Linked DNA regions of Homo sapiens: region 2 is linked to region 1. The links are contacts of gene promoters, found by promoter capture Hi-C in blood cells and fetal thymus (Javierre and others, 2016). All regions are on one chromosome and are shown on one strand. Each heading gives the region's core, a stretch centred on a gene start or on the middle of the fragment in contact. The rest is flanking DNA. Distances are from core to core; before and after follow the strand shown. Region 1 holds the start of CELF3 (CUGBP Elav-like family member 3). Region 2 overlaps THEM5 (thioesterase superfamily member 5).

Region 1 (4,714 bases), core at 1,654-4,153:
GTGTTGGCCTGTCTTACCTTCCACTTGAGGTGGAAGCCACTTGAGGGCAGGAAGGTTATAGAATCAATTCTTTGTGCACTCTCATAAATTCTGCTGCAGATGTCTTCACTCTGTATTCAATCAGGGAAGCCAGTAAGTACTTCATGACTAGCCACTCTGCCCACACATACCACCACATTTTGCCCTTTCTGAAAAATATCCCAATTATCCAGCATTTCTCATTTCCTAAGAATCTAAAGCCAGGATCAGAGCTCTCCCTTTATAAATTCAATAATCTTTTTATGTAGGGCAGCCTAGCTTTGACTGCAGAGGAATAAAAAAGAGGGTGAGCTTGGGGGTGGTGGGCAGAGAAAGTATCCTGGAAGCCTCTCTCTCTCCTAGAGAGAAACTTTCCAGAATAGGCATCTGAGTCTCAGGGCTCCCCTGCCTTTACCTCACAGGACTCCCATCCCATGGCCTGAAAGAACACCAGAGATGTGTTCACCGTCACTCAGCAAGGAGAGTCTGATGAGTGGTACAACTCTTCTCCTCTAAACCCTGCCTCTTCTCTCAGACTGACACCTTTGGGGACCACAAACTAAGCAAAGGACTGGACGCATTTTGCTGTCTGCAGCTGTCTCCCCAATTACTGACTGGGAGGAGGAGTGAGGGGAGTTCATTTTAATTCATTTTTGTGAATGTTTAATATTTCAATTAATATGATTAGCCCCAAGCCTGAATGAGCAGCAGGGCGGCAGATCTGCTGAGAAGACATAGAGTAATGAGATCAACAGGGCCATAGGGTCTTCCCCTTCTCCATCCTCAGAGGACATGATCTGTTTAGCATCTCCATAAATACCAAGATCAGATTAGAAGGCAAGGAAAGGAGCAGTGGGGGTGGGGTAGGTGAGTGGAAAGTTACTTTCAAGATGTGTGTGCCCTTCTTGATTCCCTGGCTCTGCCGTCATTCGCTTCTTCTGAGCACCCACCACTGAGTCCTCTAGCACCTCCCCCCACTGCCACCCCATCTTAGGGGACCCTACTTGGGGGACCCGGGCATCCATGTGATGAAGTGTAATCAAGTCTACACACATACACATTCACTCAAATGCAAGCACCTGCCAGAGCGTGGCTCCAGGCCACAACAAAAAAACAGGCTAAGGAAGGATGGGAGGTGGTCCACAGAATCAAGCAGTAAAAAGAAAGACTCTCTCTCATCCAGGGCTTAAATGGAGACAGAAGAGGAAGAAAGGCCAGACTTCACCACTGCTCCCATTCTCAAGAGGAATGTTTGATGTGGGAGTTAAATGCGTGGACTCAGGAGCCAGACTGCCCAGGCTCCAGTCTCAGCTAGACCTCTTTCTAGCTGCATGGCTTTAGGCAAGTTATTTCAGCTCTGTGTCTTGGTTACCTCCTCTCTATTTGGAGATGACAAAATCTACATCATAGGGGGGTGGTGAGGGTTTAGGAGTTAGTAAATATAAAGCACTTGGCACAAAGCCTGGGACACTGTAAGAGCCATGTAAGCACTGGCTGTTACTATTATTTCCCTTCCAGAAGAGAAGCCTGCCTGCCGTGATAGCTCAGGAATGGAGGCCCCTGGGACTCAGCTGGGACACAGTTTAGAGACACGAGTGCCTCTGTGGAAACAGCAGCCCTACCCCGGGGGAGAAGAAGGGAATGACAGGAAGACAGGGTGCTCTACAAAAGCCCAGAGCCCCAGGAGAGCCCCCGTTGCTGAGCACTGACAGAAAGCAAGGGCTACCACCACTGACAAGGTTTGATGTCCACAGATAATCCCTGCACTGAGGGCGTGCTCTGAGTGGGCCCAGTGCATGGAGGGGTCACGCTCCCTCCAGATCGTGGAGCCTGCCAATCATCCATAGAAGTATCCATGGTCAGGGGAGCAATGGTCCCCGAATGTGCCTCCCCTGCTCTTCTGTGCTACCTGGCTCAATTTGAGTCCAACTCAAAGAACCCAACTGAAGAAAGAAGCAAAGGAAAGAGTAATTGGGTTTCTGCATCCTAAGGGGAAGCTTGACAGCTGTGGTTCTTCCCACTGAAGGAATCAGGAATCCACTGTTGTCAGAGGTTGTTTGCATGGAGTGTTTGTTAAGCTCCTGCTACGCATGAGCAAGACAGGGTGCTAGACACTGTGAACAGTAAGATGCTGAATTAAACGGTGTCCTGGTCTTCAAGGAGCTTACAAGTGAGAGCGCCCGCGGCGCCGCCTCCGCGGCCTCCCTGCCCACGCACTTATACACACAAACCCCCCAGAGGGAGAGAAGGGGGCATCGGCAAATGCCAGAAAGCTATCGTTTTTCTTGGTTCCTTTTCTGGAAAATATACAGTTCTCTTTCTGCATTCTTCTCATCCTGCTCCTCCTTCTCCACGTCCCTTTCCATTTTTCCTCTCTGCATTTTTTCTTTTTCCCCCAGACTCTGCGACCTGCTTCCCTCTCCATCTATATCTCCTTTCCCTTCAGCCTATGCAACCGTCCTTTCTCATTTTTCTTTCCCCTGATTTCTTTCCTTGACTCTCTACTCTTGGGGCTCCCCAGATGCCGGGCTCCCCTCTTTCCCCGCCACCCCCCATCTGCTGAGTCTTCCAGCACCGGGGACAGCTCCAGCCCCCGGAACAATGGACCCCACTTTAGGGTTCCTCTATAAATTCTCCATCTTAGTGCTTTGCCCAACTCCTGACTGGGGAGTAAGATGGGGGAAGGGTTATTATCAACAGGACCAGCTGCTCTTCTGGGGGCGGGAAGGGAGTCAGGGAGGATGGAGATAGAAAGAGGGCGTGGCTCGTGCCTGGATTGTGCGTCCCTCTCCAGGGTAGAGAATTTGTATTCGACCCCTGAGACTGACATCACTGATGTCAGGGGAAAGGAGGTGGGAGTGGGGAGGGGGGTGTGGAGGGGGGAGGTTTTTGTTGAGGAGAGCGCGGCCGGAGAGCAGAGCTCCGGGACCCAGGTGACCGGGAAAGCAGGCAGCCCCAGCGGCGGGAGCAGCCGGCAGCAGCCCAGGCCCGGGGACTGGGGTGGGGGTGGGAGGGGGGCTGAGGGGAGGACCTGAAGGGGGGCGGCAGGGCAAAAGGGACCCCTGGAGCCCTGCCGCCATCAGAGATCAAGCATCTGGCATCAGGGATCTTCGGACCCAGCAGAAGGATCCGCCACAGGGGAGGTGTCCTCCCAGGGAAGCCAACGAGAGATTCACCTGCCCCACATCAGGAGTGGGCCCCCCTTACTGACGCTGCTGGCAACCATAGCAGGCCCCTTAACCCCTCAGTCTCCTCCCCATCACCCTCCTCAGGCCCTTTCCCCGCCTCCAGCTCTCATCTCAACTCCCAGTTCCCAGCCCTCTAAGCCCTAGCACCCCCGGCTACCACCTAACCCTCCAGGTCTTGGCCATACTCACCCCCATCCTGGGACATTTGCCAGATCTCTGGGAGGGAGATCGTTTGTTTAGGCGATGCCCCCTGGTGGCATGACAGCGTCTGCCTAGACCCCTGACCCCTAGCACTCAACTCCCTGGGCCTCCTTTGTGTGAAGAGCCGCCCCTCTGCTTAGCAGCGTGGTTGGGGGCCAAAGGGAAAGCCAGCCCCAGCTGGGCCCCCGGGCCCCACCACTTATCTCCTTGCTGGGCAGCTCCCCTTGGCCTTTGGGCCTCTCCCTGCTCCCCTCGGCCCCTCCTCCTGGGCCGCCTCAATGAAGGAGCCGGATGCCATCAAGCTGTTTGTGGGGCAGATCCCGAGGCATCTGGAGGAGAAGGACCTGAAGCCCATCTTCGAACAGTTTGGTCGGATCTTTGAGCTGACTGTCATCAAGGACAAGTACACCGGGCTGCACAAGGGTGAGGGGTCGGGCAGGCTGAAGAGGCTTCGGGGTGGGCTGGGAGGCTGGGGGAAGTTAAGCCAGGCTGGAGGGGTGGAGCGGCTGGGAAGGGCTGATGTGGAAGGAGAAGAGTTCAGGCCTGAGGAAAGTGGATGGAGGAGCTGAAAAAGAACTCAGCTAGAGTGATCAGGAAACCCCGGTGAAGGACTAAGGAGGGCCTCTTTTGGCTGAAGAGTTGTCAAGACGGCTGCAAAGATGTGGATCCCAGACATATGGGTGTGTTGATGTCATGGGATGAACTCAAGAAAGAATGGAGGGACAAGAGAGCTGGTTTGGGAGATAAGCAGCTGGGTAGGGGTGTGTGTGTGTGTGCGTGTGCAGCAAGACTGAGAATCTGAGCAGCCTCAGATAATATTGGGATGGGGGTCAGGACACAGGGTCAGGTGTTCAATGTGGAAAGCGTGGAGCTGGACTGGGCAGGGCAGCTCCAGGACTAAAGAGAGGGACTAGGAAGCAGGGCATGAAGGCTGGAGATTGGTAAAGATCTGGAAAGTGTGGGAGGCTTAGAAAGTTAAGAGAGTGGGGGAGAAGGGAGGGTGCTCCTCAGGCCTATCCAAGGGCTGTGCGGCTAAGTGGGGGCGGTCAGGGTCAGCACTTGGAGAGCTCCACACACCGGGGATCCCAGGGGCCACACCAGCTCCCCCTCCACCTGGCACAGGGAAGAGGCACTTCCGGCTAACTAACTGTTCTTCCCTTCCCTTCTCTATTTCACTCTCCGTCCTCCACCTGCCTATGGTGGAGGTGGGGAGAGATGAGGAAATAGGGAAAATGGGAGAAGAGAGGGATGATGGTGATCAAGATGGAGGGAGGTGGAGGTGAGGGAGAGAGGGGAAAGGAGAACAG
Region 2 (4,842 bases), core at 1,745-4,244, 130 kb before region 1:
TTTACTATTATTCTTTTGAATTATATGTGAGTTACATGAGTAATTACATTTTCAATTTTCAATGCTTATGGTCTCTTAAAGTCTTGCCCTGGCCCTGATCCTATCTCCATTCTCAGCCAGGGCACTTCCTGCATGTTTCTGCCCTAGACAGAAAGGCTCTGTGAGGACAGCAACTGTGCCTCTGCTCCCAGAGGGAAGGCTCCCTGGGGGTGGACCTGGTGTCCTCTGGTTTTCTCTCCTTAATCTTGTACCAGAGGCAAGACTCAACCAAATGGTGCTGCATCCTGACCATACCCTCCCTTCTCCGGCTGCAACACTGCCTATCTCTCCCCAGACAAAGGTGACTGTCGCATCTTCACCAGGTGCATCCAAGTGGAAGGACAAGGCTTTGAGTATGTCATCTTTTTCCAGCCAACCCAGAAGAAGTCGGTCTGTCTTTTCCAACCAGGCTCCTACCTGGAGGGGCCCCCAGGGTAAGGTCACTGGTAGGACCTTGGCTGCCTCCTGGGCTTGGCTCAGCAGGGCAGGTTCAGCACCCACCAGGCTGGCCCTGGAGTCTCTATCTTTCTCTAAGGGGTGAGGAAGGGAGTGTGGGGCACTAGGCTTCAGCCTCACAATACCAGGCCTGGAAGGACACACAGGGTTATCTGGCCTAATCCCCAGTGTGCAGATATGGGCTTCTCATCAAAGTCTCAAAATTTTCTGGACAAAAGACCTGAGAGGCCACTTTGAGAAGAATGTGGTACACTTGGAAGAGGGCAAGATCCGGAATCTAGACTCTGACTTGGTGTCCTGCCTGGCTGCTGCTGGCTGTGGGACTCTGAGCAAGCAATTGACCCCTGGTCTTTAGTCTTCTTACCTGAAACCTGGGGCAATAATATCTACCTGCCAGGGTGACCAGAGATATGATATTATGGGCCTATGTGTGCGTGCTCATGAACCGTAAAGCACAGTACAGCTATCAGACACTTCTACCCAAAACCCATGTTCTATCCATGGGGAAATGGAGATGCACACAGCTAAAGTAACTTGCCCGAGGCAGCACCAGCAATCAAAGTCAGATCCAGGACTCTAATCTGGGAGGTGAGATTCCAAGTCCACTGTTCTCTCCACTCTACTCTGCTGCCTCCAGACTTGGAACAGACCTCAGGAGGAATGCACACTGGGCATAAATGTGTCCACAAGGGAAATCAGGCTGACCGTGGGTCACCAAGTTCATGGTTGTCCCCCTTCTCTTCCATCCGGATGCCTGCTCCAGACAGTCACTGAAGGCTGGAGGTGGTGCTGGAGCTCCTGCAAGGGAGAGACAAGAGAGGGCAGGAGTGGCTTTAGGGTCCTGAAGCCTGAGAGGGGCTTAACTGGGGTTAAATAGAATCCAGAGTGCTAAATAGATGTCAGGGCCTCCAGAGGCTGTGGATGCCAACTGCAGCCCTCAGTCACCTTGGCCATCCCAAAGGAGTCCTCCACAGGGACACTGCTCCACACACTAGGCTGTGCAGATACTAGTGAATTGCTCAGAGCCCTGCCCAGGCCATGGACTCCCTCCTTTCTGAAGCATGGCTGACTTTTATTTAGGGGCTGATGGAAGTGAGGCCAAAGAGGCAGAGGAGGACCATCCAACACTAAGGCCAGTCAGTGGATTGAGGGGTTGGGGGTCTAGAGAAGAGATTAGTATCCACCAGGCCCCTAGACCATGGGGAGTGGGAAGGAGGAGTTACTCGTTGGCCAAGAGCTACTCTGTAGATCCACATACTGGCCAATGGGTCCCCAGGCTGGCCAGTGAGGACAAGGAGGAGAGAGTTGGTTTCGAGTTCTTTGACACCAACTCTTTTCACTCTCTTTCAAGCAATTTGGGAGGCAGACAGGGAAGTGCCTAAGAAGTGTGTAAATTATGTTTGCAAACATTTGTTTATTTAATCTGCTGAGATCAGAATTGTGAAATTCATGGTGGAAAAACTAAGGCTCAGAAAGGTTTAGCAATTTGCTCAAGATCAAACATGTAGTGAGCTGTGGGACAAGGAGTCCAACTGGGTGGATAGAGACTAAAGAAGCAGGGAGGGAAGGGTCTGGAAAAGCCACTGGTCACAGCAGCAGGAGGGTAACCCATGGCAGTACAGTGTGGACAGCTGATCTGGCTCTGTGGAGAATGGGCTGTGCTTTTGAAAATCAGGAACTCAAATCTGCTTGGTGTTATTTGAATTCTAAAATGGGTGCCTATTTTCCCAAATTAGCCAACCATGAAGTAGCTGACATAAAGCTTGCAAAAGCAAGAATGAACATTTTACGCTTTTTTTTTTTTTTTTAATTTTGAGACAGTCTTGATCTGTTGCCCAGGCTGGAATGCAGTGGCACAATCTCAGCTCACTGCAACCTCCACCCACCGGGTTCAATCGATTCTCATGTCTCAGCCTCTCGAGTAGCTGAGTTACAGGCGCTTGCCACCACACCCGTCTAATTTTTATATTTTTTAGTAGAGACGGAGTTTCACCATACTGGCCAAGCTGGTCTCGAACTCCTGACATCAAGTGATCTGCCCACCTCAGCCTCCCAAAGTGCTGGGATTACAGGCGTGAGCCACTGCGACTGGCCATTCTATGCATTCTAAATAAAGCAAATGTCTGCGGCATTTGAGCATTTCAGCTCAATTTCAGCATTGAGCCTGCTGAAGCAGGCGCTCTGCTTTCTGTGGCAACGCTGCTCAGAAGTGTGTCATGCCAGCCCTTGATAGGTCATAAGTTATGTTTCACATTTACTTATCTTGAGATGTGGGCCCCGCACTGGCTGTAGTGACTGGTAAGGTGAGAAACAGCCCAGGGTTGTGCCTCAAAGACTGAGTCAAAAAGTTCAGGGACTTTTTCATTTCCTGTATATGCCCATCCTTCCAAATTATGGCAATTATTGCCAGCAATTAGGTAATGAACCAGAAAAATGTTTTCTATTAACTTTATCAGAAAAAAACAATTTCCCTGATGAAATAAAATGTTGTATCATTGGCTGCAAACGCATGCTGAAGCAAAACAGAAAAGCTCAGTTGATTTTGACGGGTTTGATCAGATGGGATGCAGCTGTTTCCTTCTTTCCTATTTGGCTGCCCTGAGGCTGAACGTCTGTGTTTGGAAGGGTCTAGGGAAAGGGAAAGGTAGGATCACCACAGGAGGGAGGGAAGGCCCATTGAGGGGGTCTGCCCAGCAGCCCCAGCCCAGGCCTTGCTCCTCACCTTACCCCACCCCCAGGTTTGCTCACGGCGGGTCCCTGGCAGCCATGATGGACGAGACCTTTTCTAAAACTGCCTTCCTGGCTGGAGAGGGGCTGTTCACACTAAGTCTCAACATCAGGTTCAAAAAGTAAGTATGGGCCCCTGGGGCATTGGCCAAAGTCACAGACCTTTTCATCCCTGGAAGTGGCCATCCTCGGCAGCTGGGGTGTAGGAGCCCTGCCTGCCACTCTCCTTCCCCAGCCCACTCCCAAGCAATTCCTCTAGTCCCTGGCCAGGACACAGCCTCTGCTGTCCAACTTTGGGAGCTGACAAAAAGGCCCTGAGCCCAGGGCCACTTCTGAGTCCTCGAGGCCGGGAGGGATGAAGAGAGGGAAGAGGACACAGAGAGTGAAGGGATGGGGAACCGGGTTCACATGAGAGATGGGCTAAGCTGCCTCGTCTCCCAGCTTGATCCCCGTGGACTCTCTGGTTGTAATGGACGTAGAACTGGACAAGATTGAGGACCAGAAGCTTTACATGTCCTGCATCGCCCACAGCAGAGACCAGCAGACAGTTTATGCCAAGTCCTCAGGTAAAGGAGCCCCCAGCCCAGCCCCAGGCCCCGTCCCACCACCACCCACCCCCAGAACAAACAGGAGGAAGAAAAGATGCCAATGATTCATCCCAAGCTGCGGTCCAGCTTCTTTAGGGGTGGGATAGGGCACCTACTAGGGACACAGATGAAGCAAGGGAGAGCAGAACTAGGATTTTTTTTTCTATATATGAGTTATCCAACCTGTAACGAAAGGACAGGACCCAGGTAATGGGTAATTTGCAGCCAAATGCTCAGAGTGTCCATCAAGCTCCAGCCATCTCAGTGCAGCTCTTGCAGCTCAACTCACCCTTCTCTTGCAGGTGTTTTCCTTCAGCTGCAGTTGGAAGAAGAGTCTCCCCAGTAACAGTCACTGTGCCTGCAGGAGAGCCACTGCCTCCCCTGCCTGCCTCCTGCCTCCTGCCTCCCCTGCCTGCCTCCTGCCTCCTGCCTCCCCTGCCTGCCTCCTGCCTCCCCTGCCTGCCTCCTGCCTCCTGCCTCCCCTGCCTGCCTCCTGCCTCCTGCCTCCCCTGCCTGCCTGGGACCCATCAAAGAGCAGGGAGGGGTCCTCAAGCAGCAATTGGTGAGGCGAGGGAAAGGACCCTTTTCTCTGAGTAAATAAAGTCTCACAGTCCCATTCTCGGCCCAGGGCCTTTCTGTGGTTGGAAATCAAAATCCTTCCAGGGCATCTCACATACCCACCTTCCCATTCAGCACCGACTGAAAAGATTTACTGAGTACCCGCCAGGTGTCAGGCACTGTGTGAGGCACCAGGCACCCAGAAGTGAAAGACAGGGCCCCGGTCTCAAGATGCACAATGCGGGAGCCAGGTGCCAAGTCAGAGTGCCCTATCACGCTCCTCCCACACCCACCCTGGCTTCCATCATGAGTGCAGTGTCATCTCAGCGGGAGGAAGGGCTAATTTTACTCTACAAAAGCAATCAGAAAACATCTTCTAGAAGAAGCTCTTCCTGAACTGTCTCAAAAGTTAAGTGGTGTTCATTAGGCAGGCAGGGGAGAGGAGGATATCCCAGGCAGAAGGGAAGTAAGAAGT

What was found. The method cuts DNA at HindIII sites, captures the fragments that hold promoters and counts their contacts. A CHiCAGO score of 5 or more calls a contact.
Region 2: a fragment that was not itself captured here is called in contact with the fragment with the promoter of CELF3 in region 1 in 1 of 17 cell types (M1 macrophages); the score reaches 5.1 in M1 macrophages.

Annotation. Positions count from the first base shown.
Region 1 is chr1:151,714,992-151,719,705 of GRCh38, reverse strand. It overlaps CELF3 (CUGBP Elav-like family member 3), which reads left to right and starts at 2,903. Exons shown (of 13, transcript NM_007185.7): 1 at 2,903-3,830. The coding sequence starts at 3,686. It also overlaps a transcript of RIIAD1 not described here. RefSeq lists an enhancer at 2,679-2,973. The HindIII fragment of the contact is 2,919 bases long and covers 2,018-4,714 here.
Region 2 is chr1:151,846,684-151,851,525 of GRCh38, reverse strand. THEM5 (thioesterase superfamily member 5) reads left to right here. Exons shown (of 6, transcript NM_182578.4): 3 at 335-473; 4 at 3,234-3,344; 5 at 3,664-3,788; 6 at 4,112-4,425. The coding sequence ends at 4,155. C2CD4D-AS1 (C2CD4D and THEM5 antisense RNA 1) reads right to left here. Exons shown (of 4, transcript NR_152846.1): 4 at 1-1,293. Among named protein-coding and RNA genes, the nearest start is that of THEM5, 4.6 kb to the left of the region's middle. RefSeq lists an enhancer at 2,835-3,602. The HindIII fragment of the contact is 1,470 bases long and covers 2,260-3,729 here.